2 separate regions of the Homo sapiens genome follow, and region 2 is linked to region 1. Evidence: promoter capture Hi-C in 16 types of primary human blood cells and fetal thymus (Javierre and others, 2016). All regions are on one chromosome and are shown on one strand. The core of a region is centred on a gene start or on the middle of the fragment in contact, and the rest is flanking DNA. Distances in the headings are between cores, read along the strand shown.

Region 1 (2,700 bases), core at 42-2,541:
GATCGTGCCACTGTACTCCAGCCTAGATGACAGAGCGAGACTCTGTCAAAAACAACAACAACAACAACAACAACAACAACAAAAAACTCCTAAGTCTTCTTTTTCTTTTTTTTCTGGCTTCCTTTTCCTGCAGGAATGATGAGAAGACAGCAGCTGATTACAAGATTTTAGGTGGTTCAGTCCTTCACCTGGTGTTGGCTCTGAGAGGAGGAGGTGGTCTTAGGCAGTGATGGACCCTCCATTTTACCTCTTTACCCTGTCGCTCATAATGAGGCATCATATATCCTCTCACTCTCTGGGACACCATAGCCACTGCCCCCTCCCCTGGATGCCCAGTAATGTATGTCTACTGGTGGGAGACTGTGAGGATCCCAGGATTCAGTATTCCTGGCCCAGAGGGCCCTTGCTGGCTACTGGGTGTTAGTTTGCAGTCCTGTGTGCTTCCCTCTCTTATGACTGTGTCCCTGGTTGTCAATAAAATATTTCCTGGCCTCCTGGAATCTTTCTTCTGTTGCACAAGTTGACTGAAATAAAAATGGACCTAATGCTCACTCAGTTATAGCAGGCTGAAGGAATCGGACAGTGGAAGGAATGGTGCTCTTACGGGGATTATCAGACTCTAGGAAAACCTACTTAGTGGTGTGTTGGAACCAGTTCCTAGTGGCTAATGAGAGCCAATTATTGGCACCTTTTTCCAACTCTATTAAGTGACTTCATGTTGGTAGCTTGAAATTGGCCATGGTAGGATTATTTACAGAAACTAGCAAACACTACAGATCAGTTCCTCCCCACAAACTGGTTGTTATACATCTACCAGTGTAGTGCTGACATGGATGGTGAAACCTTCGGAGAGTGAATTCTCTCTTGACTGTGGCTGTACTGGACATTTAGGCCTGGTTGGAGAACGCCTTCAAGGGTTTGGCTGACACTGTACTCTATGGCTGGAATATTACTGAGGACTTTGGGTTCTACACTGTCAGGAGGTTGATAATGCAGAAAGATTGAGTGACAAGCTGTGATGTATCACTTGGGTCTCAAGAAGAGGCAGGTGCTAGAAGAAAAGGCTTTCCTTCTTCCCTGGCTTCTTAGTATAATAGAATCGGGCAAGGCTGGGTGGAGTGGAGAAGTAGGGAGGATGCCCGTGGCCAATGCCTTAGAAAGACTTGACTGCTGTGGTTGCATGTGTGGTCGTGTTGGTACCTCGCTGCAATCCTCTTCCCCGCCCAGCATCAGATGGCACTCTTGCGCCATCTCCAGGCTGATGACGCCCCGAGTGGCGACGCTCTAGTCGCCATTTGTCTATGGCAGGCAGGGTGGCTGCCTTAGCTGCCGGAGGTTCCGCACTCTCTAAGGCCCCGGGTGAAGCCCCACCTCTGCTGCGCGCAGCCTGCGGTGCGGGTCATGGCGCGGCTACCGAAGCTGGCAGTCTTTGATTTGGGTGAGGGACGGGAAGGGGAGAATTTCGTAAGGTGCTCTCCTTTTCCACATCCCTAACAGCAGCTCCCGAATCCCTGCATCTCCCGCCCCAGGCTGAACCTTCCCTCTCCTTCCTCTCGCAGATTACACTCTCTGGCCTTTCTGGGTCGACACGCACGTAGACCCTCCGTTCCATAAGAGCAGGTGAGGTAGGGACAGGGAAGACTGGGGGCGAGATAGGACCCAGCCAGGGCTGAGCGCACTCTTGCCCTCTCCAGTGATGGAACTGTACGAGATAGGCGGGGCCAAGACGTCCGACTGTACCCAGAGGTGCCTGAGGTCCTAAAACGATTGCAGAGCCTTGGGGTGCCCGGTGCGGCTGCTTCAAGGTAAGAAGAGCGACTGACAACTGACAGTGTAATGCTGAAGGGTGCATGCAAGAGACAGTGAAACCCCTGGTCTACAAAAATAGGGGCGGTGCAAGTTTCCAAGTATTTACATATTTTTTCCCTTGAACGCTCTCCTGTGCCTTTTAACTATTAAAAAGTGGGGCCAGCAGGCGGGCGCGGTGGCTCACGTCTGTAATCCCAGCACTTTGGGAGGCCGAGGCGGGTGGATCACGAGATCGGGAGTTCAAGACCAGCCTGATCAACATGGTGAAACCCCGTCTCTACTAAAAATACAAAAATTAGCAGGGCGTGGTGGCACGCACCTGTAATCCTAGCTACTCGGGAGGCTGAGGCAGGAGAATCGCTTGAACCCGGGAGGCGGAGGTTGCAGTGAGCTGAGATGGAGCCACTGCACTTCAGCCTGGGTGACAGAGTGAGACAATGTCTCAAAAAAAAAAAAAAAAAAAAAAGTGGGGCCAGACACAGTGACTCACACCTGTAATCTTAGCATTTTGGGAGGCCTAGGTGGGAGGATCACTTGAGCCCAGGAATTTGAGACCAGCCTAGGCAATAGAGGGAGACCCTATCTCTACCAAAAAAAAAAAAAAAATTGTAGTGGCGTGCACCTGTAGTCCCAGCTACTTGGGAGGCTGAGGTGGGAGGATCACTTGAGCCCAGGAGGTCGTGACCACAGTGAGCCGTGATTGGGTCGCTGCACTCCAGTCTGGGCAACAGAGCTAGACCCTGTCTCAAAACAAAAGCTAAAACATTGGCCCAGCACCAATTGTGTCAAATAGGAAGGCAATGGAGTTAAACAGAGGCTGAGGATGCCTGTCCATCCCGGAAAAACAGCAAGTTGATTTCCCTGGTTATACTTACTAACTTTGCTTAATAA
Region 2 (2,700 bases), core at 201-2,700, 1.1 Mb after region 1:
AAAAAAAAAAAAGAAAGAAACTTAAGTAGCTCCTTGGAGGCACTATGATTTTCACTGGCAGGGTTCTTGACATTACGCAAAGCACTTTCACCTATATTATCTGATTTGGGCCTAATGACAAGTCCATGAGGTAAGCTGGGCCAGTGTTAACATTTTCCCAGAACAGATAAGGAAACAGAGAGCCAGGCAAATGACTTGCCCAGGGAGGCAGGCCACGTGGAGTGCAAGGGCTCCTGATTTCTTGTCTGTCCAGTGCACTGCACTGTGCTGGCTACTCCCAGCTGCTCCTAGGAAGATTACTCTGGCTTCTTGGCAGTAGGTCCACATCTACTTCTACCTCAACTTGTCAAGTCACACTCTTTTAACTCTCTTGGAGAAGGGTTTGTCCATGATCCCTGCCCTTGATGAGTTTTCTAACTAGGAGAAAAGCCATATAGACAGATACTGTGGTTAGGATTCAATTGCAGTAAAAATTCAGAGAAGGGAGCTAGGCATGGTGGTGTACACCTGTAGTTCCAGCTACCTGGGAGGCTGAGGTAGGAGGGTCGATTGACCCTGGGAGTTCTGGGCCACAGTGAGCTATGATTACACCTATGAATAGCCACTGCACTCCAGCCTGGGCAACATAGTGAGATCCTGTCTCTAAAAAAAAAAAAGAAATTAAAAACAACAATAACAATAAAATTCAGAGAAGGGGAAAAGATCTCTGTGGGCTGGAATAGGTTAGAGAGGCTTCCTAGAGAAGTTCTGCAGAGCCGTATTTCTAGGAAGTCTCAAAGCTTTATCTCTGATATTAGTCATCTCAATGGATTGGGGTATTTTACATCTTTAATCAAAAACTAATTTCTAAAGTAAATACTTAGATATGTTTCAGGGGCTCCACCTCTAGGGTTCACTGGGTCCCTGCCTTCCCATAGCTTCTAACACACATACACTTAGCTGAGGGCAGTGATCATCCTGGCCATATGCTTTCCCAGGTCCTGACACTTTTCCTTCTGTCCTGTTACGGGATGGGGGAGGAAGAGATCACTCACCCACCTCAGTAGCCTCTTACAGGGCAGGCAGCTGGGACCCAAGAGGCGGTCTCCTTGGCAAGTGAGCCCTCTTTGGCAGTGCTGGTCAACCCTGGGACAGACCTCCACCACCCAGGCCATTTGCAATATGGGGCCAAGACATTTGTTTGGGGGTGTATTCCTTGTGTTTGATCAGGCCTGCTCACAGATCTGGAGGCAGAGGAATGCAGGCTCCAAAACCAGGCTGCCTGCGCCTGCATCTCCAGTCCACCATTTCTAACTGCAGTGGTGAGTGCTGGGCAAAATCACTCGTCCACCCTACTGTGAGATGGGGAGTGTAATCCTAGCTGCCTCAAGAGGTCGTGGTCACAAGGACTGCAAGAGAGAAGGAAGGGGACACCCTCAGCACAGTGTTAGACACCCAGCACCCCAGTCATATCAGTCACTGGGGGTGGGCAAGATGCTGGGGCCACTTTATCCTTGCATCCTAGCTGGATCCAGAGTTGAGATGGGGAGCGGGGAAGAGCGAGGGCGTGGGAATGCAGGAAGAGTGCTGTTTCTGCCATCAGATCAGCTAATGGGAGGGTGGGAGGCAAGGCCACAGAAGTGCTAGCTACTGCTGTTTTGGTGTTTCTTTGCACACAGACAGCTTCCTTTTTCCTGCTGATGCTGCTAAAGTGTCTCAGACAAGAGGCCACCCTTACCCTTCTACTAGAAATCAAGAACCCCCGAGGCTGTTCAGTTTGCACCCTAGGAGAGGAGCCAGGCCACAGGTTGAAGAAGTTCCCAGGCAGCCAGACCCCATGGCTTTCTTTGCATTCCCCAAATCTGCCAAGGGTTTGACCTCTTGCACAAAGACCCTCCAAAGTAGTGTAGCCTTTTTGGCGTCCCCTCGGACCAGAAAGGTCCAAACTCTCCTAGGAGATAAGAACGCCACCTGCCTGTAGCCCTGCTCCAGAATGACATGTTGCACAGTCCTCTCCACAGCCTTCCCCTCACCTAGACACTGCAAGGACCAAGCCAAGGAGAAATTTAGAAACTGGCTGATGACAAAAATGACAAGACCCCCCTCCTCTATTCCTGTAGTCAAAGATTCAATAAAGCTTATCTAAGTTTGGCCTCTGCCTTCTCAGCAGAACTGCAAGGAAATTATCTCCAACTTAACAGTAGCCAATCTTGTCCTCTAAAGACAGGAATTTTCAATGTCCTTGAAATATGGGTTCAAATATTTGTCTACCTTCATAAGCAGAAAAATCTTAAATCCTTCTTATTCCCAAGCGTAGTCTTCCTTATTTCCTTTAGGGGAAATGGAAACCAGCTCCACACCTGTCCCGCTGCAGTGTCCCTTTCCTCCTAGCTGTGAAGGCCATGTGGAGCTGCCATCCCTCTGCCCGGCAGGGTGCACACGTACATGCATTAGCTATAACAAACTTCCTCTCTCCCTTTCCTTATACCTGACACTCCCAGCTGCTTTGAGTCTGTGTACAGAGGTTCTGTTTTCCGGTTTGTTGAATACTTTTTTTTTTTAATCCACTTCTATAGGCCCCTCAAATCCTCTCTTCTTTTTTTGAATTTTATGGCAGGCCATACCAGATAAGCATCCAATCCTCTCATACGGTATTCAGTAAAACAAGAACCAAGCTGTCAGGAAGGCTTGGTAGATGCTTTTTTTTTTTTTTTTTTTAGA

The links. Contacts are between HindIII fragments. The CHiCAGO score rates a contact against its expected background, and 5 or more counts as called.
Region 2: a fragment that was not itself captured here is called in contact with the fragment with the promoter of MDP1 in region 1 in 1 of 17 cell types (M0 macrophages); the score reaches 5.5 in M0 macrophages.

Annotation. Positions count from the first base shown.
Region 1 is chr14:24,214,657-24,217,356 of GRCh38, reverse strand. MDP1 (magnesium dependent phosphatase 1) reads left to right here and starts at 1,291. Exons shown (of 6, transcript NM_138476.4): 1 at 1,291-1,438; 2 at 1,560-1,620; 3 at 1,695-1,805. The coding sequence starts at 1,402. NEDD8-MDP1 (NEDD8-MDP1 readthrough) reads left to right here. Exons shown (of 7, transcript NM_001199823.3): 4 at 1,695-1,805. It overlaps NEDD8 (NEDD8 ubiquitin like modifier), which reads left to right. Exons shown (of 4, transcript NM_006156.3): 4 at 134-500. The coding sequence ends at 230. RefSeq lists enhancers at 1,245-1,414, 1,827-2,565. The HindIII fragment of the contact is 6,893 bases long and covers 1-2,700 here.
Region 2 is chr14:23,161,923-23,164,622 of GRCh38, reverse strand. All of the region lies in intron 3 of SLC7A8 (solute carrier family 7 member 8), which reads left to right. Among named protein-coding and RNA genes, the nearest start is that of SLC7A8, 20 kb to the left of the region's middle. The HindIII fragment of the contact is 1,337 bases long and covers 782-2,118 here.